Regions from separate parts of the Homo sapiens genome. Here region 1 is linked to region 2. Evidence: promoter capture Hi-C in 16 types of primary human blood cells and fetal thymus (Javierre and others, 2016). All regions are on one chromosome and are shown on one strand. Each heading gives the region's core, a stretch centred on a gene start or on the middle of the fragment in contact. The rest is flanking DNA. Distances are from core to core; before and after follow the strand shown. Region 1 overlaps JUP (junction plakoglobin). Region 2 holds the start of FKBP10 (FKBP prolyl isomerase 10).

Region 1 (6,698 bases), core at 2,909-5,408, 56 kb after region 2:
GTACAGACAGGCCAGGCGCAGTGGCTCACGCCTGTAATCCCAGCACTTTGGGAGGACGGGGCGGGAGGATTACCTGAAGTTAGGAGTTCGAGACCAGCCTGGCCAACATAGTAAGTCCCCGCCTCCACAAAAAATACAAAAATTAGCTGGCCATGGTGGCATGTGCCTGTAATCTCAGCTACTCGGAAGGCTGAGGCAGAAGAATTACTTGAACCCGGAAGGCAGAGGTTGCAGTGAGCTGAGATCGCTCATTGCACTCCAGCCTGGGTGACAGAGAGAGACTCCGTCTTGGAAAACAAAAACAAAAAACATGGCCAGGCGTGGTGGCTCACGCCTGTAATCCTAGCACTTTGGGAGGCCGAGGCGTGTGGATCACGAGGTCAGGAGATCGAGACCATCCTGGCTAACACGGTGAAACCCCATCTCTACTAAAAAAATACAAAGAAATTAGCCAGGCGTGGTGGCGGGCGCCTGTGGTCCCAGCTACTCAGGAGGCTGAGGCAGGAGAATGGTGTGAACCCGGGAGGCGGAGCTTGCAGTGAGCTGAGATCGCGCCACTGCACTCCAGCCTGGGCGACAGAGCGAGACTCCGTCTCAAAAAAAACAAACAAAAAAACAAACAAACAAAAAAAACCCAGTGCAGATAAGAATGACTCTAAGTGATTCTACACATTGAATTATTATTTTTTATTATTATTATTATTTTTGAGACAGATTCTTGCTCTGTTGCCCAGGCTGGAGTGCAGTGGCATGATCTCAGCTCACTGCAACCTCCGCCTCCCAGGTTCAAGCAATTCCCGGCTAATTTCTGTATTTTTAGTAGAGACGTGGTTTCACCATGTTGGCCAGGCTGGTCTCGAACTCCTGACCTAAAGTGATCTGCCTGCCTTGGCCTCCCAAAGTGCTAGGATTACAGGCGTGAGCCACTGCGCCCGGCCTATACATTGAATTAAAAAAAGAAAATTCATGTTTAGAAAAAAAAATGTCATTGTGACCCCTCCTTGATGCTTGGTCCCTGCTGCAAACCTGAGGTGGGACTTTGCATCCTAACCCAGCAGCTAAGTGGCAAGTGACTTTGGCAAGTCATTTGCCCTGTGCTCACGTCCCCATCTCACATGATTTTCATCCCTGTCCTCCTGGCGTCTTGTTTTGAGGATGAAATAGATGACACCTTGAGAGGCTCTGGGAGGCCAGAGTGGCTCCTCTGAGTCAAAGACCCTGGGGAGGAGATCTCAGGACACCTCTTTCCAGAGCTGCCCTGCTGGGGATTAATGACAATGTGAGCACCACCCAAGCAGGAGGCTTCGGGGGCACCTAGAGCACAGAATTCCTGAGAATCAGGCTTGGAGGACTATCAGAAAAGCAAGCAAGGTCATGGTGTCTGTGGGGGGTGGTTAAGAAAGAGGGGACAGGGTGAGGGGCCAGGCATGGGGCTGGCAGGATGTTCTGGAATGGGGTGTCATTTTAGCAAGGGCTATTAGAATTAGCCATGAGCAGCCGGACGTGGTAGCCCACACCTGTAATCCCAGCACTTTAGAAGGCAGAAGCAGGCGGATCACCTGAGGTCAGGGGTTCGAGGCCAGCCTGCCCAACATGGCGAAACCCCGTCTCTACTAAAAATACAAAAAATTAGCTGGGCATGGTGGCAGGCACCTGTAATCGCAGCTACTCAGGAGGCTGAGGCAGGAGAATCGCTTGAACCCAGGAGGTGGAGGTTGCAGTGAGGTGAGATTGCACCACTGCACTCCAGCCTGGGTGACAAGAGCGAAACTCTGTCTCAAAAAAAAAAAAAAAAAAGAATTAGCCATGAGCACTCCCAGATCCTGTGGATTAAGTGACATGGCTGGGATGGTCTCCTTCTCTGGATATTTTCCAGTATGTCTGTGTCTGGCCTCGGGGACAGAAGAGGTGAAGGAGGGAAGGGATACTTGAAGCTGGGAAGCTGGGATCCTTCAGATGTCCAAGAAGTGCCCCTGATCACTGCCCCTTTTTTTGCCAGGCAACCATCGGCTTGATCAGGAATCTGGCCCTGTGCCCAGCCAACCATGCCCCGCTGCAGGAGGCAGCGGTCATCCCCCGCCTCGTCCAACTGCTGGTGAAGGCCCACCAGGATGCCCAGCGCCACGTAGCTGCAGGCACACAGCAGCCCTACACGGTATGTGAGCTGGTGGTGCCTCTGACAGCCTTCCTGGGGGGTCAGGGTGTCCTCTGTGGGTGTGTGTGTGAATGGGGAGGTCAGTTGCAACTGATGCCAATTCCAAGAACCTGTGAAGTTCATTCGGCTGTCATGGGGAGGAGTTGTGGCCATGTCCAAGGCACCTGTCCCATGCCCCCTGCCTCCTCTCACACAGGATGGTGTGAGGATGGAGGAGATTGTGGAGGGCTGCACCGGAGCACTGCACATCCTCGCCCGGGACCCCATGAACCGCATGGAGATCTTCCGGCTCAACACCATTCCCCTGTTTGTGCAGGTGAGTCTGGGGCAGGTGGGCAGGAGAGGTCCCCCCACCACTGCTTAAAGGGCAAGGTTAGGAGTCCCAGATTTGGGAGGCCTGGACCAGGTATCAAGAGGTCTTTGGAGGAGTTTGGAGGAAAGTTGCCACTCCAGATTGACTACTTAGCAACCCCCTGCATGGGCATGGCTTTCTAAGCTTCAAAGCAAGGAAAGAGATCACAAATGGAAAAAAAAAACAAAAAACAAAAAAACTTGAGATTCAACCATATAAACATGAAAACCATCTGTATTTCAGAAAGAACCTAAAAAAGCATTTTTAAAAAATCAGCAAACTGGGAGAATATGTGCAAGTACCATAACAGACAAGAAGAGTCTAACATCTTTCACATCAGTGAGCTCATTAACACTAGATTCCAATGGTTAGATGAGGCAGAGTCACAGGTAATTTCAAGGTAGCTCATGAACAATGCTCAGCCCAGTTTAAAGCAGTAACACTTACTCCCCAGTGACGGCCCATTTTCCACTATGGAATTGCTACAGGGTGGAGGTGGGCAGTGCTGTGGGGTGTGTTGTCCGGCCTGCCTCACCCCTTTCCACCTCTCCCCTGCTTCCCACGTCCCCTCTCCCCAGCTCCTGTACTCGTCGGTGGAGAACATCCAGCGCGTGGCTGCCGGGGTGCTGTGTGAGCTGGCCCAGGACAAGGAGGCGGCCGACGCCATTGATGCAGAGGGGGCCTCGGCCCCACTCATGGAGTTGCTGCACTCCCGCAACGAGGGCACTGGTGAGCTGGGGGAGGGCAGGAGGCTGGGTCCCACTCCCCCAGCCACGATGGAGGCTGGCCGACGTTTAACCTGGCTTTTCCTTTCCTCTCTGCTCAGCCACCTACGCTGCTGCCGTCCTGTTCCGCATCTCCGAGGACAAGAACCCAGACTACCGGAAGCGCGTGTCCGTGGAGCTCACCAACTCCCTCTTCAAGCATGACCCGGCTGCCTGGGAGGCTGTGAGTATCCTAGGTTGGACCACAGTAGTTGGTTGTGCAAGTTGGGCACTGCCCATGGGCAACACTTTTGGGGGTCTCCTACTACTGTCAACTTCATAGATTTTTATTTTGTAATTGGATCATTTATAACAATTCCTAGCAGATGGAAGTAGTGGGTTGAATCATATATCCACAAAATGCCAATTTTTATTTTGCCCAAATGAGTATACAGTGTTTGAGGTGGGGGTGCCTTTTTGTAATTTGCGTGGAGGTGCTGGATAGGCTATGGGCGGTCTTTTCCAGGGTGGGGCAGTGCCCTGTACCCATTCTTGAGTCCTCTGCCTCCTCCCCTGAGCTGCTCTAGTCCGGCAGGAGTCCCTGCTTCATGAGTGGGGAACCCTCCTCCCTGGGGAGTACCGAGGACATGAGTATATCAGGGCACTGGGTGACCCCATTTCATCATCCTCTATTCCTCCAAGGCCTCTTTGCTTTTCTCCAGCCCCCTCTTTTATTTATTTATTTATTTTTATATTTTTTGAGATGGAGTCTTGCTCTGTCGCCAGGCTGGAGTGCAGTGGTGTGATCTTGGCTCACTGCAACCTCCGCCTCCCGGTTTCAAGCAATTCTCCTGCCTCAGCCTTCTGAGTAACTGGGACTACAGGTGCACGCTACCACACCCGGCTAATTTTTCTATTTTTAGTAGAGACGCGGTTTCGCCATGTTGGCCAGGATGATCTCGATTGTCTCCTGACCTTGTGATCCGCCCGCCTTGGCCTCCCAAAGTGCTGGGATTACAGGCGTGAGCCACTGCGCCCAGCCTATTTTTTATTTTTTTCGAGACAGAGTCTCACTCCTGTCGCCCAGGCTGGAGTGCAATGGTGTAATCTCGGCTCACTGCATCCTCTGCCTCCCCATTCAAGCAATTCTCCTGCCTCAGCCTCCCGAGTAGCTGGGATTACAGGCCTGCACCACCACGCCCAGCTAATTTTTTTTGTATTTTTAGTAGAGACAGGGTTTCACCATGTTGGCCAGGCTGGTCTGGAACTCCTGACCTCAAGTGATCCGCCTGCTGTCTCCCAGAGTGCTGGGATTACAGGCGTGAGCCATGGCACCCAGCCTGGCCCCCTCTTTTAGAAGCATCTCTCCCTGCCCACCAGCTGAGATCCAGCTCGGAGCCTGCATTTTCAAACCTCCCCTCCATGTTTCTCTCTCCTTTTTCAGGCCCAGAGCATGATTCCCATCAATGAGCCCTATGGAGATGGTAAGTGTGTGCCGGGCTCTTCAGGACCCTGGAGATCCTGGGCGGCTGTGTGGGTGTGTGTGAGGGGACAATATTATGTCTCCGGGGCCAGAGGACCAGTGGCAACTGCTGTGTGGCATCCACATGTACCCCAGTCTAGATGCCCTGGTGTGGGGTCTGGGGAGGGGTCAGGCCCACCAGGGGTGGGCATGGGTAGAGGAGGCAGCTGAAGGCTGTGCAGACTGCTCCCTGCAGGGTAGCTTGCAGACCCTAGGACCGAGCCCCACTTTTTGTCCCCAGACATGGATGCCACCTACCGCCCCATGTACTCCAGCGATGTGCCCCTTGACCCGCTGGAGATGCACATGGACATGGATGGAGACTACCCCATCGACACCTACAGCGACGGCCTCAGGCCCCCGTACCCCACTGCAGACCACATGCTGGCCTAGGCGGCCTGGCCCCAGTACGGCCCCCTCTTTGCAGGCTTTTCCTCCTCTCTAGAACCTCCTTCTGTTGGAGGCCCTCCCATCTCCCCGCTGAAACCTGCGCTCCTTTTTTGGGGGGATCCTTTGCTGCTGAGCTTCCCCAAGCACGGTGTGCCCTGGCCTGCCTTCTTCTTGTGTCTTTGGTGGGGATGGGGAGGCCTATTCCTGCTGGCCCCTTCTGGGGGTGGTGGGCAGGTGACACGGAGTGGCTTGAGCTTCTGGGGATGCAGGTCCACCGAGCCCCTGACCCCTGTCTGTCCCCGCTCCCCTAACAGGTGCGGTTCCTCATCTGAGAGGCTCTCCGTGCAGGCGATGGGGCAAGACAGAAAAGTGCCTGAGCTGGGGAAGCCGGGGTGTAACTTCCTGCTGCACCCTGCGCCTCCAGAGGTCCTCCGTAGGGTCTTTCTTGGGATAGTGTTCTGCTCCTGCTTTTCTGTCCTGGGCATGGGTCCAGGGCCTGACACCCCCTCCCCGCCCCTGTGGCCCTGGCCACTAAAGCTTCAGACTCAAGTACCCATTCTGTTTTCCCCCAGCAACGCCCCTCCAAACCTCCAGCCTCCCTGTCTCCAGCTGCCTGGGCCCGGAAGGGCTTTGGTTCCTTCTCTGGGTCTGATTTTCTCACTGAACTCCACCGACCAACTGCCCTAAGCCCCCAGGGCCTCCAGGGCCCAGGTTCGAGACCCAAACCCCCAAAATCCAAAACTTCTCTTGAAAAGTTCAGGGACCGTCCAGGGGAGATGGGGAGGAGATATGGAGTGAGTCACCTGCTCCAGAAGATGCCAGCTTCTCTCTCCAGGGTGCTTAGTTGGCTTTGCCCACCCCTCACTCCCCAGGGAGCTCTGGGGACAGCTTCCTCACACCCCTGTCCCACCCACACAGCTGCCCTAGCTGACCCCGAGAAGTGCTCTTGGCTGACCCCTCTGGTGTGTGGTGAGGGGCTTTCTCTTCCCCTTCCTGTTTCAGACCCCCCCATTTCCCGCACATGGTGTGGGGGGCTGGGGGAGGTCCAAGCAGAGTGTTTTATTATTATCGCTTTATGTTTTTGGTTATTGGTTTTTTTGTATAGACCAAAGCAAAGAAAATAAAAATAACACAGATGCGTTGGAGGCTGTTTAGGGGAGTGGGGTGGGAAAGTTGAGGGGCTTCCCTAGCGGCCTGGCGCCCTCTTTGCTGGGTCCTGCGGGTCCTCAGGGCTGCCTTGCATGTGGGAAGGACTAGAAGAGGCAAGCTGGGGAGCCAGGAGTGTTGGGGGAGCCGGAGTGGATTTAACCCAATATGCGCTTGTAGGGCGAGGACGGGGGAGGAGGTGAATGGGGATGAGTCCCTCACTTCGGGAGGCCAGGCCTTGTTTCTCTCTCAAACAGGCAAGCTCCTGGCTGGCTCTCCTCCCGTCCAGCCTTAAAGTGAATATGGCAGATGTCCCCGTGCGTAATGCTCCCCGAGGCTTATGGCTTTGGGTCCAGGCCCCTTGTTGGTCAGCTGTGGGCCCACCCCAGCTCCTGCCCACCTCCCCTCTTCCTTCCCCCCACCACCTAC
Region 2 (6,598 bases), core at 1,787-4,286:
CAGCCTCCGAAGTAGCAGCTGGGATCACAGGCATGCACCACCATATCTGGCTAATTTTTGTATTTTTAGTAGAGAGGGCTTTCGCCATGTTGCCCAGGCTGGTCACTCTTGGCCTCAAGTGATCTGCCTGCCTGGGCCTCCCAAAGTGCTGGGATTACAGGAGTGAGCCACTGTGCCCAGCCAATTATATACACTTTTAATTTATTTTAAGTTTTCAGAAGTAAAGTGAGGATGGGAGATTTTTTTTTTTTTAATTGAAGGGGCCATGGGTTAAGAAAGTTTTCTGGCCGAGCGCAGTGGCTCACGCCTGTAATCCCAGCACTTTGGGAGGCCGAGGCGGGCAGATCATGAGGTCAGGAGATGGAGACCACCCTGGCTAACATGGTGAAACCCCGTCTCTACTAAAAATACAAAAAAAATTGTGGAGGCGCCTGTAGTCCCAGCTAATCGGGAGGCTGAGGCAGGAGAATGGTGTGAACCCAGGAGGCGGAGCTTGCAGTGAGCAGAGATCGCGCTACTGCACTCCAGCCTGGGGGACAGAGCAAGACTCTGTCTCAAAAAAAAAAAAAGTTTTCTAAGTTGTGTGGGCGCGGGGGCTCACGCCTGTAATTCTAGCACTTTGGGAGGCTGAGGAGGGTGGATTGCCTGAGCTCAGAAGTTTGTGACCAGCCTGAGCAACATGGTGAAACGCCATCTCTACTAAAATATGAAAAATTAAGGCTGGGCGCCGTGGCTTACGCCTGTAATCCCAGCACTTTGGGAGGCCGAGGTGGGCGGATCACGAGGCTGGGGTGGCATGTCTGACTGTGTGACACGTAGACAGACAGGGCCTCCGCAGGGAGCCATGCCCTACCCCCAGGTCCAGCTGGCTGTCTTCTTATAATACCCACCCGCCTTTTTCAAGACCAGTCTGGCCAACATAGTGAAACCCCTCTCTACTAAAAATACAAAAAAATTAGCCGGGTGTGGTGGTGTGCACCTGTAATCCCAGCTACTCGGGAGGCTGAGGCAGGAGAATCACGTGAACCTGGGAGGCAGAGGCGGAGGTTGCAGTGAGTTGAGATTGCTCCATTGCACTCCAGCCCAGGCAACAGTGTGAGACTGTGTCTCAAAAAACAAAAACAAACAAACAAACAAAAATTAGCTGGGCGTGGTGGCATGCGCCTGTAATCACAGCTACTTGGGAGGCTGAAGCAGGAGAATTGCTTGAACCCAGGAGGTTGCAGTGAGCTGAGATGGCACCACTGCACTCCAGCCTGGGCGACAGAGTGAGCCTCCAGCTAAAAAACAAAAAGTTTTCCAAGCTCAACACTCATGAGCTGGGCTCCCAGAGTCCCCATCAGGGATGACATCCCCTAAATCCCAACCCCTGCCTCACTCCTAGCAGTCAAGGGCTCAGGGCTGCACTTCTGGCTACTACCCTATATCTGAATTTGCCCACCAAGCAGACAGGTTTTAAGTCTGGACTGTTTCCTTCTCAGTGTTGTTATGAAGGCTTAAGCTCTGCATTAAGTTTCTACAAGTTCCACAGCATCAGGTCATATGGTTTTCCTCAGGGTCAATGTTAATGTGTGCTGAACTGGCTGGAGGACTGCCAGGCCCTGTGAGAAGCCTACGTTCATTCATCCATGTCCTTGGAGTCCTAACATCAGCCTTAGCAAGTAGGTCCTGTTTTTGTCTCCACTTTTCAGATAAGGAAAGTGATGCCTAAAGAGACAAAATTCTCTGTCCATGGTCATAGCCTGGATTTGAACCAGGGTCTTGGGACTCTTGGAGTTTGTAGGCTTACCCCAATATATGCCTGCCTCTAAAGTCATGGCCACTAATTTCCTGTGGGCTGAGTTGTGTGTTTCAGAGGAGGGTCTAAGAAACACTGACTTCTTTCAGTGTGCTGTGGGGTCTGTGTGTAACTGGGACCCTAGATTTACCCCTGAGGCTGGCATACAGCCCTGCCCTGTCCCCGCTAACAAAAGTGGACTTGCTGGGGCAGACCAAAGGCCTGGGTCAGACCAGGAGGCCACCTTACAAACCCCAAGGCTGGCAAAAATGGGCGGCCTGTGCCTCTGGCCTGGTGTACCTAAAATGGAGAGAGATGAGGGTTCCAGGAGAACCAGAGAGGGAGGAATGAAATTCCTCCAAGGAGCCCAGGGTGGCATGTCCGACTGTGTGACACGTAGACAGGGCCTCCGCAGGGAGCCACGCGCTACCCCCAGGTCCAGCCGGCTGTCTTCTTATAATACCCACCAGCCTTTTTCCCTGCCCACCAGCCGCTGAAAACTCCCACCCCCTCCAAAAAAAAGTTCTATTCCCTCTTCTCTGACCACAAAGGCACTGAAAACAGTGGAACCAGAAGGGGAGTCAGGGTGGGTGGAAAGGTACGGGGTCCAGGCTGATAGACCATCCCAGGGTTCTTAAGCAGCAGGGACCACCCCCTTCCCCCCAACACTGTAGATCAGAACACCCCTCTCCATCAGGTCATTACATACAGCCCTGGTAACTACACAAGGCAGTTCACCTTGATTATCGAGTCCTTTCCGGGATGTGGAGAGCTTGTGAGAAAGAAATGGGATCCTTTGAGAAGTGAGGGTTTGGAAGTGGGGGCAGGAGGGTATCTTTGGGGAGATGGGTGTCTGGGAGGCCCCAGGGGTGCTGTCTAGGGTTAGAGTATTGGGATGCAGAGCTTAAAAGAGGCAACAAGGAAACAGGACCCCGGGTTCAGGGGACGGAGTGGTGAATCCGGGGGCGCCCAACCGGGGTTACCTTGAATCAAACTTCTTGCCATCTTCAAAAGTGCCGTTGTAGTGGTAGCGCACAAAATCCCCCATCTGCACTTCCCGGGGACAGGCCCTGGGGATGTGGTACCTCTCGATGACCACATCTTCCAGGGGGCCCCCGGCCGGGCTGGCGCGGCCCAGCCCCCTCCCCACGGCCTGCACCACCAGTAGCAGCAACTGCAGCAGGGGGAGCCGGAGGAGGCTGTGGCTGGGGGGGCCCGCGGGGAACATGGTGCCTGGAGTTGGGACCGCCGGCAGTGAGGGCGAGCGAGGGAGTCGCCACCAACCTCCTTCCCCCCGCCTCCCAGAACTGGCTCCCCCTCTTCCTGTCCTCTTTCCCTACCCCCGCCCTGGCTGGTCCACGTGGAATGGGGGCTGGGAAGACTGAGCTGGCCTGGCCGGGAGGAGCGGGGGAGGGGGTTGCAATAGGAGGAGGGGGCCAGGCTGAGTGTGTTAGAGTCTGAGGGAGGCACTACAAAGAACTCTAGGTTCCCCCTCCCCCCATCTCCATCCCTGGCTGCGAGACCTGGGGCCTGGCCAGGGAGAGAGGCTCGGGAAAGATGAGAACTCTGAGTGGACACCAAAGGAAAAAAAAAAAAAAAAGTTCAATGACTTTTTCCGGAGCCCCCGGGTCCTAAAGCCGGGCGGAGATGAACCTTGCTTCTTTCGCGGGCACTTCGAATTCTAGTCCCCTCCAGGTGGGTGGTGAAGCCGCGGAGTGTGAGAGGCATCTCCGTGCTCATCCGTGACCCCAGCTGTACTCCAAGGGAAGGCATCTCCAGGGAAGAGCAGCTTGGTCCCGCAAAAGCTGGACTGAAAGAAGGACTTTGTGACTTGGGATGTGACGGGCACGGAGATGGAGTGGGGGGTGGTGGCAGCGCAAGGTGTGCAGGTGACAGCAGGTGTGTGCCTCCGACGTGGGCGGGGGAGACACTCGGAGGGTGCAGGAGGGCGCAGCGACGGAAGGCCCGGCTCCAGGGCTTCCTTCTCGTATGGGCAGCGCAGAGGAGGCGGCCCTCACTCAGTGTCCTGATCTCAGGCGGGGGCACTGTTTGCATGGGGAGGGGCTTCCTGGGCTTCCCATCTCTGGCGGGAAGCGCTCCCCGACGCATTCTCTACCTAGGGGACACCCCCAAGGCAGGAGCCCGGGCCGACGGAGAGGACTTAACGACACTATCGGACCCTCTGGGAAAAGAGGGGAGACGTCGTGACCCAGGCCCCGCCCCACCTTGCCGCCTCGTGCCCGGCGCTAAGACCCAGCGGGCGCGCCGCCCGCCCGGGGCCCGGCCCTGTCCCCTTCCGTCCGCGGGGCAGCCAGCTCAGCTCCGGAGAGCCGGCGGCGCGGCGGGCATGGCTCGGGTGGCGTGGGGGCTGCTGTGGTTGCTGCTGGGCAGCGCCGGGGCGCAGTACGAGAAGTACAGCTTCCGGGGCTTCCCGCCCGAGGACCTGATGCCGCTGGCCGCGGCGTACGGGCACGCTCTGGAGCAGTACGAGGGAGAGAGCTGGCGCGAGAGCGCGCGCTACCTGGAGGCGGCGCTGCGGCTGCACCGGCTCCTGCGCGACAGCGAGGCCTTCTGCCACGCCAACTGCAGCGGCCCCGCGCCCGCGGCCAAGCCCGATCCCGACGGCGGCCGCGCAGACGAGTGGGCCTGCGAGCTGCGGCTCTTCGGCCGCGTCCTGGAGCGAGCCGCCTGCCTGCGGCGCTGCAAGCGGACGCTGCCCGCCTTCCAGGTGCCCTACCCGCCGCGGCAGCTGCTGCGTGACTTCCAGAGCCGCCTGCCCTACCAGTACCTGCACTACGCGCTGTTCAAGGTGGGAGCCCGCCCCCACCCGGGGACCTGTCTCGGGCTGGGCGTCGTGGCTCCCCACAGATCGGTCGAAGGAGCGTTATCTTCACCCAAGGCACGAAGCCCGCCGTGCGCTCGGGGCCGCGAGCTCCGGTCTTGCTGACCCGCTCCCCCACCCCCTACCCCCCGACCAGGCTAACCGGCTGGAGAAGGCGGTGGCGGCGGCCTACACCTTCCTCCAGAGGAACCCGAAGCACGAGCTGACCGCCAAGTATCTCAACTACTATCAGGGGATGCTGGACGTCGCCGACGAGTCCCTCACGGACCTAGAGGCCCAGCCCTACGAGGTGGGGTGGAGGGTCAGGAGGAGGCTTGTAGAGGAGGGCTAGTAGAGGAGGGGAGATGTTGGGGGCGCCCTGACTCCCCCTGCCACGCCCCTTCCAGGCCGTGTTCCTCCGGGCTGTGAAGCTCTACAACAGCGGGGATTTCCGCAGCAGCACGGAGGACATGGAGCGGGCCTTGTCAGAGTACCTGGCAGTCTTTGCCCGGTGCCTGGCCGGCTGTGAAGGGGCCCATGAGCAGGTGGACTTCAAGGACTTCTACCCGGCCATAGCAGGTATCTGCCACCCAGACCACGGTGGGCGGTCCTCTCACCCACAGGGCCCGGTAAGGCAGATGTCCCCTTCATGCACGTGGAGCACTGCGAATGCGGAGGAGCCAGCCGGGAGGAAGGCCTTGTCTGTTGAGAAAGACGCTGGGTGCAGGGGCCCCAGCTGGGAGTGTCCAAGGGGCTGGATCAGTGAGTAGAGGCAGTGACATCCCTAAAGGGTTTGGGAAGCTTGGGTTCATAGGCCTTCCAGGCAGAGGGCAGTGCAGATGCAAAGGTGCAGCGGTGAGAAGTAACCCAGCAGATGTGTGCAGAAAGCAGTTGATAACCAGAAATTACACCTAGTCTTGGGATCTCTAACCCTGGGGTCCCTCGAGCAGGGGCAGAAAGGACTGTACTTGGCCAGGTGTGGTGGCTCACACCTGTAATCTCAGCACTCTGGGAGGCCGAGGCAGGCAGATCACGAGGTCAGGAGTTCAAGACCAGCCTGACCAACATGGTGAAACCCCGTCTCTACTGAAAGTACAAAAATTAGCTGGTCGTGGTGGCGGGCACCTGTAATCCCAGCTACTCGGGAGGCTGAGGCAGGAGAATCGCTTGAACCTGGGAGGCGGAGGTTGCATTGAGCCCAGATCGCGCCACTGCACTCCAGCCTGGTCGACAGGGCGAGACTCTGTCTCAAAAAAAAAAAAAAAAAAAAAAGACTGTCCTTTAGCTTCTCTGTTTGGACTTCTGCCCCATTTCTGGACCTCACCTGCTGCTCTCCCAGAATGCCCTGGCTCCCTCTGGCTTGGGGTGGTGGTTGAGTGGCAGGGGTGGTGAGTCAGCCCAGCCCACAGTCATCTTCCTCACCATCACTTGTCATATAGTATGCCAAGCACTTTACAGACATTCTCTCCTGTGATTGCAACAGCAACACATTTTCTGGACAAGCAGCTTGGCTTAGTAGGCAGAGATTGGATTTAGAGTCTTCTCCACTGGGGGGACGGAGATGTTCATTGCAATGCCAGCCTCTCACTGCTGCCTCCCACCCTCAGATCTCTTTGCAGAGTCCCTGCAGTGCAAGGTGGACTGTGAGGCCAATTTGACCCCCAATGTGGGTGGCTACTTCGTGGACAAGTTCGTGGCCACCATGTACCACTACCTGCAGTTTGCCTACTATAAGTGTGAGCCCCCTGGGTGGGCTGGCTTGGGCAGGGGACGAGGTGATAAGGGAGAGGACTGTATGGGAGCCTCCCAGAGTTGTGGGGAGCTTTCCTTCAGTATTGAGGACCCTGGGTGATAGGAGGAAAGTCTAGGGGTGGTGGGAATATGGGGAAGGCACCCTGGGAGTCTGGGGCAGGTGAGAGGCTTCTGAGTGAGAACAGACAGCAGCCTCAGGGAGAAGAAGAGGGTCTTTTGGGCAAATGACTAGACAACCAACAACTGCA

What was found. The method cuts DNA at HindIII sites, captures the fragments that hold promoters and counts their contacts. A CHiCAGO score of 5 or more calls a contact.
Region 1: a contact is called between a fragment that was not itself captured here and the fragment with the promoter of FKBP10 in region 2, in 1 of 17 cell types (endothelial precursors). The highest score is 6.5, in endothelial precursors.

The regions. Positions count from the first base shown.
Region 1 is chr17:41,754,172-41,760,869 of GRCh38, reverse strand. JUP (junction plakoglobin) reads left to right here. Exons shown (of 14, transcript NM_002230.4): 9 at 2,000-2,155; 10 at 2,352-2,471; 11 at 3,086-3,236; 12 at 3,334-3,455; 13 at 4,656-4,695; 14 at 4,975-6,261. The coding sequence ends at 5,126. Among named protein-coding and RNA genes, the nearest start is that of HAP1, 23 kb to the right of the region's middle. The HindIII fragment of the contact is 3,009 bases long and covers 2,654-5,662 here.
Region 2 is chr17:41,809,442-41,816,039 of GRCh38, reverse strand. It overlaps FKBP10 (FKBP prolyl isomerase 10), which reads right to left and starts at 3,036. Exons shown (of 10, transcript NM_021939.4): 1 at 2,761-3,036. The coding sequence starts at 3,005. It overlaps P3H4 (prolyl 3-hydroxylase family member 4 (inactive)), which reads left to right and starts at 4,091. Exons shown (of 8, transcript NM_006455.3): 1 at 4,091-4,586; 2 at 4,756-4,908; 3 at 5,006-5,177; 4 at 6,206-6,334. The coding sequence starts at 4,125. RefSeq lists enhancers at 234-733, 734-1,235, 3,722-3,831 and a silencer at 3,972-4,461. The HindIII fragment of the contact is 9,756 bases long and covers 1-5,401 here.